Regions from separate parts of the Homo sapiens genome. Here all the other regions are linked to region 1. Evidence: promoter capture Hi-C in 16 types of primary human blood cells and fetal thymus (Javierre and others, 2016). All regions are on one chromosome and are shown on one strand. The core of a region is centred on a gene start or on the middle of the fragment in contact, and the rest is flanking DNA. Distances in the headings are between cores, read along the strand shown.

Region 1 (4,133 bases), core at 843-3,342:
TCTCTAGGTTAGAACCCTGAGTCATTAAACACGAATCACTCCAAAATTTGCCAGTATTTCTAATAATGAGTTACACCCTAATGATTCACAACTCCAGACTGGCTACAGCCTTCTGGCTCCTGGAGTCCCAGCTGTATGACCTTAGACCAGTCAGTGCCCCTCTCCAGACTCACTCTCCTCATCTATAAAATGGGAACAGTTCCTACCGGCTGGGCAAGCTGGTCGATCCACTGAAAACCCTAAAAACAGAGCCTGGCACTTGTGAAAACAACGTTCTAAGGCGTATTTTCTGACAATTTGGGCGGAATTCAAGAACCAAATGGTGCTAGCATTCCTGCGCTGTGCCCAGATTATGGGATTCGTGTCACCTAGGGTTGGGCGAAAGGCACAGGCAAGTAACCAGAGTCACTGACTCACTAATTTTACCATTTTTAACTATTTCAGATTAGGGAGGAGCCTTTCGCCAAGTACTGAGCTACTCAGCAGCTTTGGTGGCTCCGAAGCGAGAGTGGGTTTGTGCCTATAAATAGACTGGTGAAGTTTTGTGGCGATACACAGGTATCTATTCTAATTCACCTCTCCTCAGCCACCAACTCCCCCGGCTGCCGGGCAGGTCATCCCTCCACCCCGAGCCGCCGGGGACACTCGCGCTCCCCGCCCAACTTCGGAGGCCAGTGAGTGCCCCTCGCTCCAGCGCGGACCCCCAGGGCCGCCGAGGCAGCGGCTCCCGACCTTCGCCGGCGCCCGGCCCGGCCCGGCCCCGCCGTCCTCGCCCACCCGGCAGCCGGCCCCATTTTCTTAACCCGTGCATTGTCCTTGCGAATCACCCCGGCGGTTCCCACACTGGTGGGGACCGAGAGGAGGGACGAGGGAGGAGCTGGGGGAAGAGGATGAGGAGGAAGAGGAGGAGGAGGAGGAGGAAGACAACCTCCACCCCTTCGCTCGGGCGGCCAGTGAAGGTCTGGCGCTGTCTACGGCCCCCCAGGCCCCGGCTCCCGGGAGGCCGCGGCCCCCGCTCCCACCCTCCGCAACTTTCCCTCCGCTCGCGCCCGCCGCTCCTCCGGGACCCGGCCTGAGGCTCCCTCCCCCGGCGGCCGGCCCTGGGCCCGCGGCGCCTCCTCCTAAAATGGCAGGTCCCTCCCTCCGCCCGGCCGGCCTCGGCTCCGGCCCGGCTGCGGGCCGCCGGGGGAGCCGAGCGCCAGGCCGGGCGGGGCCGCGGCCGGGCCGGACACTCACCGGGACGATGGCGGGGCGCTCGCGCCGCTTCCTCCGGTGAGTCTCAGCCTCGGGCTCCCGCGCCGCGCTCCCGCCGCGGCCTCCGCAGCCAGCGCCGCCCCGGCAGCCTCTCTCCGCCCCCGGCGCTCCGGCTCCTGGCCGCGCCGCAGCCTGCTCAGTCTCTCCTCGGCTCGCGGTTCCAGCGGCGCCCGGGGCCGGGGAGGCGACAGCCCCCTCCCCGGCAAATACCGCAGTCCCCGGGCCCCGATTCCAGGCGGCGGGGCCGCACGGCCGGCCCGGCGCAGAGGGCGGCGTCGGCGAGGCCGGGCGCCGAGCGGCGGCTGCTGCCGGCGGCTTCTTCCCGAGGAGGATTTTGTAAATCTCACAAAATGGCGCGCGCTCCGAACCTGCGCAGCGAGAAGCGCCGGGGCCCGGGCGGCGGCGGCGGCTCCTCCGCCAGGAGAGCCCGAACCGCCCGCCCCCGAGTCCCCGCACAGACAGACAGACACTCGCACACACCCGCACACTCGCGCGCACAATCGCCCTCGCACACGCTCCCTCGCACACACACTCGCACTCACACCGGTCCCGCCTGCTCGCCGGCGGCGGCAGCGGCACCAACAGCAGCAGCAGGAACAGCAGCAGCAGAAGCGGCGGCGGCGGCGCCCGCACCCCCCGCTCGGGGTGTCCGCTCTCTGAGGCCGACCTGGGCCGCGATCAGCAGCAGCGACAGCAGCAGTCTCCCCGGATACCCCCGCCGCGGTTGCCGCCGCCACCCCCGCCTCACTCCAATGGGGCTTTTTATTATTATTCGGGCGGGAAGCGAAAGGGTTTAAAAAAAAACCAACCAACAAAATGGCGACGGACCGACCCGGTCGCTATAGCAACTGTCAATCAAAACGCAAAACCCCGGCTGACGTGCTGACGTCCTCCTCCCGCCCCCCAGCCCCGAGCCGGCGGGCGGGGCCTGTTGCTCAGGTAACGGCAGATTCCGTTCCCTCCTTTCCGTCTCCCCCTCTGTCCCCAGCCAACCACCCAACCCCCTCAGGTCACGTGAAGGATAAATTCGGAGCTCGGGTCCGCTACGAGTGTCAGAGGAGGGCGCGTGATTCGCCCGGGGGAGGGGAGAGGAGGGGGACGGCTAGGCCGAGGGAGGGTAGGGGCTGGGGAAGGGGGGGCGAGGCGGCGGCCAGGCCTGTGCGCGATCGCCCGCCGCCTCCCGGCCGCCCCGCCCCGCCCCGCGCCCGCGCCGACTGCGGCCCGGGGAGCGCGCGCGGCCTCCCGCGCCGCCGCCCCCGCAGCCCTAGCGCCCCGCGCTTCCGCGTCGGCGCCCGCAGCCCCGCCCGCGCCGGGGGGAGGGGCGGGCTGCCCCGGGCGGGGGAGGGGGAGGAGGAGGGGCGCCGCGGCCTTCGGGCGGGGACCCGGGAAGCCCACCCCGCGCGCCCGGGCCTGGAGGGCTCTCACCGCGGTCCGGGCGCCGCGCTCGCCTCTCTCCCCGGGAAGCGCGGCGGCCGCGACCGTCCGCGCGTGGAGCCGGTTCTTCGAAGGGCTGGCGGGCCTCCTAGCCGGAAAATGCCGGCGGAGGCCGTGGTGGGGGCGGGGAGGAGCCACCGCCGCGCCCCAGACATCGCAGGAATTCCGGACGCTGCGCCGGGCCCGGCGGCCCTGAGGCTGGCACCTGGCTCCGGTCGGGCCGCCCAGGTTTTGTGGCGCCCGAGACCAGCGTTGGGAAATTAGGCTGGAGCCATCATGAAAACTTTTTCAGGCAGTGCACGCTCGCCTGTGCCTGCCCATCTGCTTCCAACCTCTCCCCACCTTTCGGGGCGCAGCCTGCCTGCTCCATCGGAATGCCCTTTAGATGAATCCCCTTGTGCTGTTACTGTGTCCTTGTCGTCCAGCTCTCTGGTTTTCTTTTCTATACACCTTCTCGGTTTCCAGAGTCTTAATTCGCCTGCTTGTCCTTAACCATCAAAACTCTTTATTAATATCCTGGCTTTCGCTGATTTTTATTCTCCCTACCCCTTCTCCCTAGCTATGTATTGCTGGGTGAGCTCCCGAGGCTTGAAAACCCAAGTATGCTGTGCTGGCTGCGTTGTAATCGGTAGAGAGCCACCAGCTAAAAATTGTATTTTGTACCAACTCTAATGGCATTTAATAAATGTATACCTAAAAAGAGTGTGTGTGTATATATATACTATTTTACAGCAGAGTCACTAATTGATTTCTAAGCTTGATTTTGCCACCTTGTGATAGTGTTCGTAACCAATTTTTTTCATAAATTTCACAAATGTGACAACAGATAAAATCTTATAAACAATATTAGATGTAAAAAACTCGCAGTAAATGCCGCTGTCTATGCTACATGACTCAAATACACCTGCTTTAAATGATTTCCAGCAAAAATGTCCTTGCTACAGTTACTAGGACATTGATATACTAAGGTAACCATTCAGATTAGCACAGACTTTGAAAGAAATCCGACTAAACCGAAAATAAATTAGTCAAAAAGTAATTACTAAGGTAACCATTCAGATTAGCACAGACTTGGAAGAAACCTGACTAAACCGAAAATAAATTGGTCAAAAAGTGGTCGGGCAAATAGCTTGCTTTCAGGCTGATCTCCATGATATAAAAAAGTTGCCGTAGCTGGCAAAAGTTCTTTCGGATTATTGTTTCAAAATTGCCCTGCTAGTGTGATTAAGGTCCACGGTCAACTTAATTGTTTTGAAGAAAGAGGAAGTGGCCCAGAGCGCCCCTTATTCAGAGGAGAGGTCCCTACCTGGTTCCTCCCAAGCTCAAGCTTCCACCTATACAACCAACTTCTTCCTCTCTGCTTGTGGGTCTCCTTCCTGCCCCCACCCCATCCCACCCCATTCACCAAGCTTTCGCTTCTATCAGAGCACATCAGCATTTGCAAC
Region 2 (4,133 bases), core at 882-3,381, 310 kb before region 1:
TTGGCCATCTTCTCTCCCAAGGCTCCTCCAGGTGTCTCCGATGTGCAGCCAGGATGAGCCCCAATGAGAGCCCCTTCCCCTTCTTTCCTCCACTGGTTTGCCTGATCAACTCCTACTCATCCTTCAAAGCCCAGCACATCTTTTGTAAAGACTTCCCTGCTTCAGTCCTGCCTAGAGAATCCCTCCCTTCCCTGTCCCCCTCTAACTCTGAACACACCTCTAAAATTAAACATACCCATCTGTCTGCTGGTTATGCATGTCAGTGCCTGTGTCCTCATTTCTGTCTCATCCCTGTGTCCCTGTGTTGTGTCCTATCCACAACAGGTGTGTGATGAGTGAGTTGGACACAACACAGACACAAGTGAGCCCAGCCACTGGGCCAGGAAAAGTGCTGCTCTGAGATGCACCCTCATTTCTGAAGCTGAGAGACAAATCCTATCCCTGAGAAAAGGAAGCCTGGAGCCCCAGGAAGGAGGATGGATGAGCTCCAAGGAGCCGGCTCCTGGAAAGAAACAGGACTGGAAGAGGGGGAGGGGACAGGGGCAGCCCAGCCAAAGGAAGCTGCAGGACAGTCCAGCTGGAGATGGAAGCCTCCCAGTAATGGGACCACCCAGGAAAGCTGATGGACAACCACCCACTTCCCTAGCTCCAGCAGGCTGCCCCTGGGCCTATCGGCCATAGCCCTAGAGATGGTTCAGGTCCCAACCCTCTTCCTCCAGCCTCTGCTCCATTTCCACCACTCCTCTTTCCCTCATGCTGTCTTACCTGTCCCCGTCTCCTCTCAATTCTTCTTCTCCTCCTTTGTTTTCTCTCTCTCATTTTGCATTCAATAATGAATATTATTGCTCATTAAAAACGTTTTGAGAATAATGTAAAAAGGAGACTTTTATAGCATTTACCACACTTAAAAGAAAAATCTGGCCTGGACAATGTAGCAAGACTCTGTCTCTACAAAAAATAAAATAATTAACAGGGCACAGCAGCATGCACCTGTAGTCCCAGCTACTTGGGAGGCTGAGACAGGAGGACCACTTTAGCCCAGGAGTTCGAGGCTGCAGTAAGCTGTGATGGTACCACTGCACTCCCACCTTAGCCACATAGCCAGATCCTATCTCAAGAAAACAGAGAGAGAGAGAAGAAAGAAAGAGAAAGGAAGGGAAGGGAAGGGGAAGGGAGAAAAAGAGAAAGAGAGAAAAACCTACCATCTCCTTACATGTGTATTACATCTTTATTTCCTTTTTGATTAGGTAAAAAGTCCAAGTGAAACAACCATAGCTGATAAGTTTATACTAAGCTAAGGATATACCATGTATCTTGAACTTTAACATTTTCAAGTAAAAAGAGATGTCAGAGAACCCAAACTGACTTATGAAAAAAGAAAAAAAAATTGAGGATGTCTTAGCTCATACAACCAAAAACCCAGGGGGAGAGGACTTCCGATGCTGCCGGTTCCTAGGCGCTGAGATGACCCCCAGACCCAGCTCCTTTTCTCCAGGTCTCCTGCTTTCCCTTCCTTCTGCATCACCGTCATCCTTAGACTACTTCTTTCATGGTAGCAGAAGTGTCCACCACATTTCAGGCCCCAACTTCTCACAAGCAGAAGAGTCAGGATCTCTTCCAGAAGCTTCCACAGAAAAGAGAAGCTTCCTTCCTAGAAGCTAAAGCTATATTTCTTTGCATCTCATTGTCCTTAAGGAGGTCATATGCCATTTCCGACCCAATCACTGGGGACAAGCAGATGAGCTCTATGGACTTGCTTAAGCCAAGCAGGGATCACCCTTAAGAGATGGGGTCAATCCCTCCTAGACTACAGGTAGAGAATGGGTCAAGACACAATTCCCTCCAGAGCAATTAAGTAAAAAAAAGAAACAGAAAGTATTCCAATTGGAAAGAAGTAAAACTAGTTCTATTCAAAGATAACATGATCTTATACAGAGAAAACCCCAAAGAATCCACAAAAATACTACGAGAGCCAATAAACAAATTCAGAAAAGTTGTAGAGTACAAGATCAACACAAAAAAAAATGTTGAATTTCTATACATAAGGACCTAGGAAGAAACAAACTCCGCATCTCGTACTATACTCTTACAACAGATAACACTTCCATGACTCCAGAGGGCTGTTGGGGTTTCTCCAACAACAACCAGTGCTGCAGGTCATTCTCCAGTGGACACCCCTGTGTGTTCCCTAATTCAGTTCAGCTCTGACACTGTCTACCTGCAGGCAGTGTCAGATCCCACAGGGTGAGGGCTCAGCCCCACAAGCCTGCCCCACCCCGGCAGATGCCAGTCGCAAGCACAGGTTGTGGCCTGTGCTTCTGACCAACTGGCTGTAAATTGGGAGTTCCCGCAACCCCATCCTGGGATTCAATTAATTTGCGAAAGCAGTTCACAGAACTCAGGGAACCACTCTACTTACACCTACCCATTTATTATAAAGGATATAATTAAGGGTACAGATGAGCAGCCAGAAGGAAGAAGGGTACAGGGCAAAGTGTGGGAGAAGAGGCAAGAAGAGGGGCACGCCCTCCCTGGGTTAACCCCTTCCAGGAACATCCATGTGTTCAGCTTTCCAGAAGCCCCCAGAACTCAGTCCTTTTGCTTTTCTATGGAAGCTTCATTATGTAGGCATGAGTAATGATATCATTGGCCATTGGTGATCAACTGAACCTTCAACCCCCTTCCCTTCCCTGGAGGTTGGGGGTGGGACCGAAAGTCTCAACCTTCTAATCATGCCATGGTCTTTCAGGTGGCCAGCCCCCACCCGGAAGCTATCTAGAGGTCTGCAGCTGCCAGTCATCTCAGTAGCAAACAAAAGACATTCTTAACACTCCAGAGATTCTAGTGGTTTTAGGAGCTATGTATCAGGAAATGGGATAAAGGCCAAATATATATTTCACAATATCACAATACACTAGCAATGGACAATTCAAAAAGGAAATTAAGAAAACAGGCCCATTGACAATAGCATCCAAAAAATGAAATAAAATACCTAAGTTCAAACCAAGGAAGTGAAAACTCATATACTGAAAATCATAAGGTCCTGCTGAAAGAAATGAAAGAATATCTAAATAAATGGAATAACATCCTGTGCTTATAGGTTGGAGGGCTTAATATTATTTTTGCTTTGTTTTGTTTTGTCTTTTTGAGACAGGGTCTTATTCTGTCACCCAGGCTGGAGTGCAGTGGCACGATCTTGGGTGACTGCAGCCTCTGCCTCCCAGGCTCAAGTAATTCTCCCACCTCAGCCCTCCAAGTAGCTGGGACTACAAGCATGCACCACCATGCCCAGCTAACTTTTGTATTTTTAGGAGAGACATGGTTTCACCACGTTGCCCCGGCTGGTTTCAAACTCCTGAGCTCAAGTTATCTGCACACCTCAGCCTCCCAAAGTGCTGAGATTACAGGTGTGAGCCACTGCACTCAGCCCAGGCTTAATATTATTAAGATGGCAGTACTACCCAAAGTGATCTGCAGATTTAATGTTATCCCTGCCAAAATTCCAATGGCCATTTTGCAGAACTAAAAAGCCCAATCCTCAAGTTCATATGGAAATGCAAGGGTCCCCAAATGGCCAAAACAATGCTGAAAAAGAACAAAATTAGAAGATTCACACTTCCTCATTTCAAAACTTACTATAAAACTATAGTAATTAAAGCAGTGACTGAATATAAGGCATAAGGATGGACATCTAAACCAGTGGAATAGAATTTAGAGTCCAGAAATAAACCTGCACACCTTAGAATAATTGACTTTCATGAGGACACTAAGATCATTTAATGGGAAAGAATCCTCTTTTCAACAAATGGTGCTGGGACAACTAGATATATACATGCAAAAGAATTAGTTGAAACTCTACCTCATACATTTGCAAAAATAAACTCAAAATGCATCAAGACCTAAATAGAGGAGCAAAAGCTGTAAGACTCTTTAGAAGAAAACACAGGGGTAAATCTTCATGACTTCGGATTCATCAATGGATTCTTAGCTGTGACACCACAAGTACAGGCAACAAAAGAAAAATATAAATATAACTTCATCAAAATAAAAAACTTGTATGCATTGAAATACATTATCATGAAAGTGAAAGACAACATACAGAATGGGAGAAAATATTTTCAAATTATTTTCAA
Region 3 (4,133 bases), core at 909-3,408, 270 kb before region 1:
TACAGGAAGCATGATAGCATCAGATTCTGGGGAAGCCCCAGGAAACTTACAATCATGGCAGAAGGGGAAGGGGAAGCAGGTATGTCTTACATGGCTGGAGCAGGAGGAAGAGAGAGAGAGTCAGGGAAATGCCACACACTTTTAAACAAAATCTCATGAGAACAGCACCAAAGAGGAAAATCTGCCTCCATGATCCAGTCGTCTTCCACCAGGCCACCTCCAACATTGAGGATTACAGTTCAACATGAGATTTGGGCAGGGACACAAATCCAAACCATATCAAGGATCTAGCAGAAATGAATAAAAATGACCTCACATTGGAGGTGGGCAGAAGGAGTTTAGGATGGGAATGAGACTTTTCTGAATATGTCTTTTTGTGCTGACTAAATTTTTGAACCATTTAAATGGCTTACAAGTTTAAAAACAAAATAGAAAAAGAATGACAAAAGCAAACCCTAAAGGGAAACACAAATAGAAACAAAGGAACCTAACTGTTTATGCAATGGATAACATAACCACATAGAAAAAAAAATAGTTCAGGTAACTTTTGAACACAGTGTTTTGATTGTACAACCTCGTGGGAATATTCTAGGATTTAAAAGAATTGCAAGCAATTTTTAGTTTTACCTCAGAGGTTTGTAGTTGTTGGTATCAAAAGGGCAAAGTGCATCTGTAGAATTAACAAAAGGCTATTTATTGAGATCATACAAGGAAGACTGCTACCATCACTTTCCTCCTAGTGAAAAATCAAAGGAGGGTGGGTTTTATAGAGTAAAAGAAGGAAGTCTTAAGACAAATAATCTTTGCTTGGTGAGTGTTCTATTAGGTAGAATTTTTGGAAGTAGGGAAGCTTTCTGATTGGCTTTCAAGTGCATTGGGCAGTTTGTGATTGGTCCATCACCTACTGGTACATTATTGGGAGCCCTCAGGCTAAATAAGGTGACATGGGATTTTCTTTTTCAACTGGAGGAATTGCTGGTCCTTAGCTGTGAGGTCTGAGTCTTGCATAAGCAATTCCTCAGTAGAGTTAAGGATGTGACCGTTCCGAAAGTGTTTTGTATGTTTTGTAGGAGAGAGCCTACATATACAGGTTGTTGAGAATTCAGATTCTTACTGTTGGAGGAGGAAGATACAAATATAGAATGGGAGAATTTGAAGAAGTTTCCTGCAGTTTGAGATTTGATTTGGGGCTATCTCGTGATTTCTTAAAAGTAAATGAAGGTTGCCTGGTGTCTGCAAGCAATTTTCTGAAGATGGTAGCCAGGACCCCAGATTTGGGCAGAGAATAAACACCATTTGTGTGGAAGATGAGGTAAGAATGGACAGGCTTAAAAGGAAAGCTAGCGGAGGGTGGAAATGGTAGGCAGAAGGGAGTGGCAATTTGGGACAAATGGTGGCCAGGTGCTGGTGTGCAGAATGCCTTTGGCTATGATCATTCATTTGCACTCCATTTTATTTTGTAAAATATGTTATCAATCTTTAGGTGTAAGACACTATAGCAGTTATAAAGATCAAAATTTATGGCTGGGAGCGGTGGCTCACACCTGTAATCCTAGCACTTTGGGAGGCTAAGAAGGGTGGCTCACCTGAGGTCGGAAGTTCAAGACCAGCCTGGCCAACATGGTGAAACCCCATCTCTACCAAAAATACAAAAATTAGCAGGGCATGGTGGTACACGCCTCTAATCCCAGCTACTTGGGAGGCTGAGGCAGGAGAATCACTTGAACCCAGGAGGCAGAGGCTACAGTGAGCTGAGATCACGTCACTGCACTTCAGCCTGGGCAACAGAGCGAGACTCCATCTTAAAAATAAAAATAAATCAAGATCAAAATTAACATGTGGTCTCTGTCCTCAAATGTAGAAATAATAGTGTTGTGGTTGACAGCGTAGACTCTGGAGCTTGGCCTCCTAAATGAGAACCCTCACCCCACTACCTATTGTACCTACTTGTCTGCTTAGGCTGCCACAGCAACATACCAGACTCAGTGGCTTTAACAGGAGAAATGTATTTCCTTACAGTTCTAGAGGCTGAAAGTCCAAGATCAAGGTGTCAGCAGGGTTGGCTTCTGCTTAGGGCTCTCTGCCTAGCTTGTAGGACAACCACCTTCTTGCTGTGTCCTCACACGGCCTCTTCTGTGTGCATGTAGAAAGAGCGTACACATGCTCTGTTGTCTCTTCCTCTTAAGGATACCCATTCTTATGATCTCATTTGACTTAACTTATCTCCCTAAGGCCAGTTCTCCAGATACAGTCATATTGGAGGTCAGGGCTTTGAATATGAATTTTGGGGCATGATATTCAATCCACAGCACTATGTGACCCAGAGAAGTTACTTAATCTGTCTTTGCCTTAGTTTGCTCACACATAAGATCATAGCATCTGTCTGAGAAGACTGTTTCAGGGACCAGATGGTTGGCTCACACCGAGCACACACTGAGCCCAGCACACAGTAAACACTCAATAAATAACATTTCTTACTTAATTCAATACTTAATTTATACACTTATCAATGACCTTGGTGAGAATAGAATTAGGAGTACACATGTAGGATCTTTTTTAGACATTTTTAAAAATCCACACTTCCATTTGTTTTTGCATAACTGGAGGTGACCCTCACTGGCCCTCTAATATTTGGGTAATAGAAGAAACACAACTGTTCATTGAAGGGATTTTTAACCTGAGCCTAGGGCAGGGCTCATCGTTATTTAAATGTTCGGCAGTTGGCAAAACCTAATGAACTAAAACCATGATTATGCCAGAAATCACACTATCCTGCTTCTTTTTGACACTGGGCTTGGTTAATCACCAACATCATTCTCCCACATGAAAAGCGACCCAGCACTGACTTCTAAGTGCACAACACTTTATTACTGCACTGATTCAGCACAGTTCTTATTGAGAATGGGCACAGGAGTAAAGGAAAAGGAAAACATCATCTATGTAGCCTGGTGTTTGAAATAAAATGGTTAAGTGTCTACAATCAGTTCTGTTTTTGAATATTGGCAATACAGATTCATTTTACAGTATTCAGAAGTGGTGAGAGTGGTTTGTATCCATCTAATTTTATTGGAATCATATCCTCCAGGCTGTTTTCATGTATTGTCTATGTATTGACTATACCTCTGGCTTTGTCCAGGGGGTTCTCTCATGAGGATGACTTTCATCATATTGGTATTCTGCACACAAACTTCTCCCACCATAATTTGTCACAGGATCTAAAAATAGGGCTTTGCCTGTTAAATCTCCATCTTGCAGGGCCTGCCCCTGTGTTTGCTCAGTGCCTATGGCACATTCCTTAGCTATGTTTCAGTCTGTTTTCCTGGATCCTAGGCAGAGTGAGCTTTGCAATCACCACCCGTAACACGCACTCCCTTCCCCTCCAAGCTCTCCTTCTCACATGGTCTTATTGGGAATGAAACGGCCACCCAAAGACAGGTTGTTTGCATGCATGTCCCTGCAAGCTTAACTCTTGGAAGAATAACTAGGCATCCAGACAGAGAAGCTCTCAGTGGAGAAACTGCGGAATGAAATAATTGTTAAAAGCTACGCACACACGCACACTCCTACACACCCTTTGGAGAAATAACTTAGTTCAGACAACACTGTGGAAATCAAGCAGCCTTCCTGTCCTGGGTGAGTTTGCGTGTCAGTTTGACTGCGCTGGGGATACCCAGGTAGCTAATAAGACATTATTTATGGGTGTGTCTGTGAGGGTGTTTCCAGAAGAGACTGGCATTTGAATCTGAAGTGAGTAAAGAAGATCTGCCCTCACCTGTGTGGGTGGGCACCATCCAATCCATTGAGGACCCAGATAGAACAGGGAAAAGGCAGGGAAAAGGGAAATCAGCTCTCTCTTCTAGAGATGGGTGTCCATCCTCTCCCTCAGACATCAGTACTCCACGTTCTCAGACCTTCAGAGCCCAGGACTTAGACCAGTAGCTCTCCCCTACCCACCACCAAATACGTGAATAGTTAATGGTTCTGAAAACACTGAACAAGAAGGACCTTTGCATGAATAATTACAAGCAGTGTAATACAAAAAATTTCCAACAAAAATGGAATTAGGTGATTTTTTAATATAGTACTTGATAAGTACAAAATAATGTACCTCACATATTGTTATAAAATGTGAT

The links. Contacts are between HindIII fragments. The CHiCAGO score rates a contact against its expected background, and 5 or more counts as called.
Region 2: a contact is called between a fragment that was not itself captured here and the fragment with the promoter of DYRK1A in region 1, in 1 of 17 cell types (endothelial precursors). The highest score is 6.0, in endothelial precursors.
Region 3: a contact is called between a fragment that was not itself captured here and the fragment with the promoter of DYRK1A in region 1, in 1 of 17 cell types (endothelial precursors). The highest score is 5.1, in endothelial precursors.

The regions. Positions count from the first base shown.
Region 1 is chr21:37,364,732-37,368,864 of GRCh38, reverse strand. DYRK1A (dual specificity tyrosine phosphorylation regulated kinase 1A) reads right to left here and starts at 2,092. Exons shown (of 12, transcript NM_001347721.2): 1 at 1,237-2,092. RefSeq lists silencers at 590-869, 980-1,119, 1,360-1,439, 1,630-1,779, 2,360-2,669 and 1 more and enhancers at 782-1,706, 3,020-3,099, 2,631-3,556. The HindIII fragment of the contact is 3,979 bases long and covers 1-3,446 here.
Region 2 is chr21:37,669,779-37,673,911 of GRCh38, reverse strand. All of the region lies in intron 3 of KCNJ6 (potassium inwardly rectifying channel subfamily J member 6), which reads left to right. All of the region lies in intron 1 of KCNJ6-AS1 (KCNJ6 antisense RNA 1), which reads right to left. Among named protein-coding and RNA genes, the nearest start is that of KCNJ6-AS1, 150 kb to the right of the region's middle. The HindIII fragment of the contact is 972 bases long and covers 1,646-2,617 here.
Region 3 is chr21:37,635,836-37,639,968 of GRCh38, reverse strand. All of the region lies in intron 3 of KCNJ6 (potassium inwardly rectifying channel subfamily J member 6), which reads left to right. All of the region lies in intron 1 of KCNJ6-AS1 (KCNJ6 antisense RNA 1), which reads right to left. Among named protein-coding and RNA genes, the nearest start is that of KCNJ6-AS1, 120 kb to the right of the region's middle. The HindIII fragment of the contact is 2,611 bases long and covers 853-3,463 here.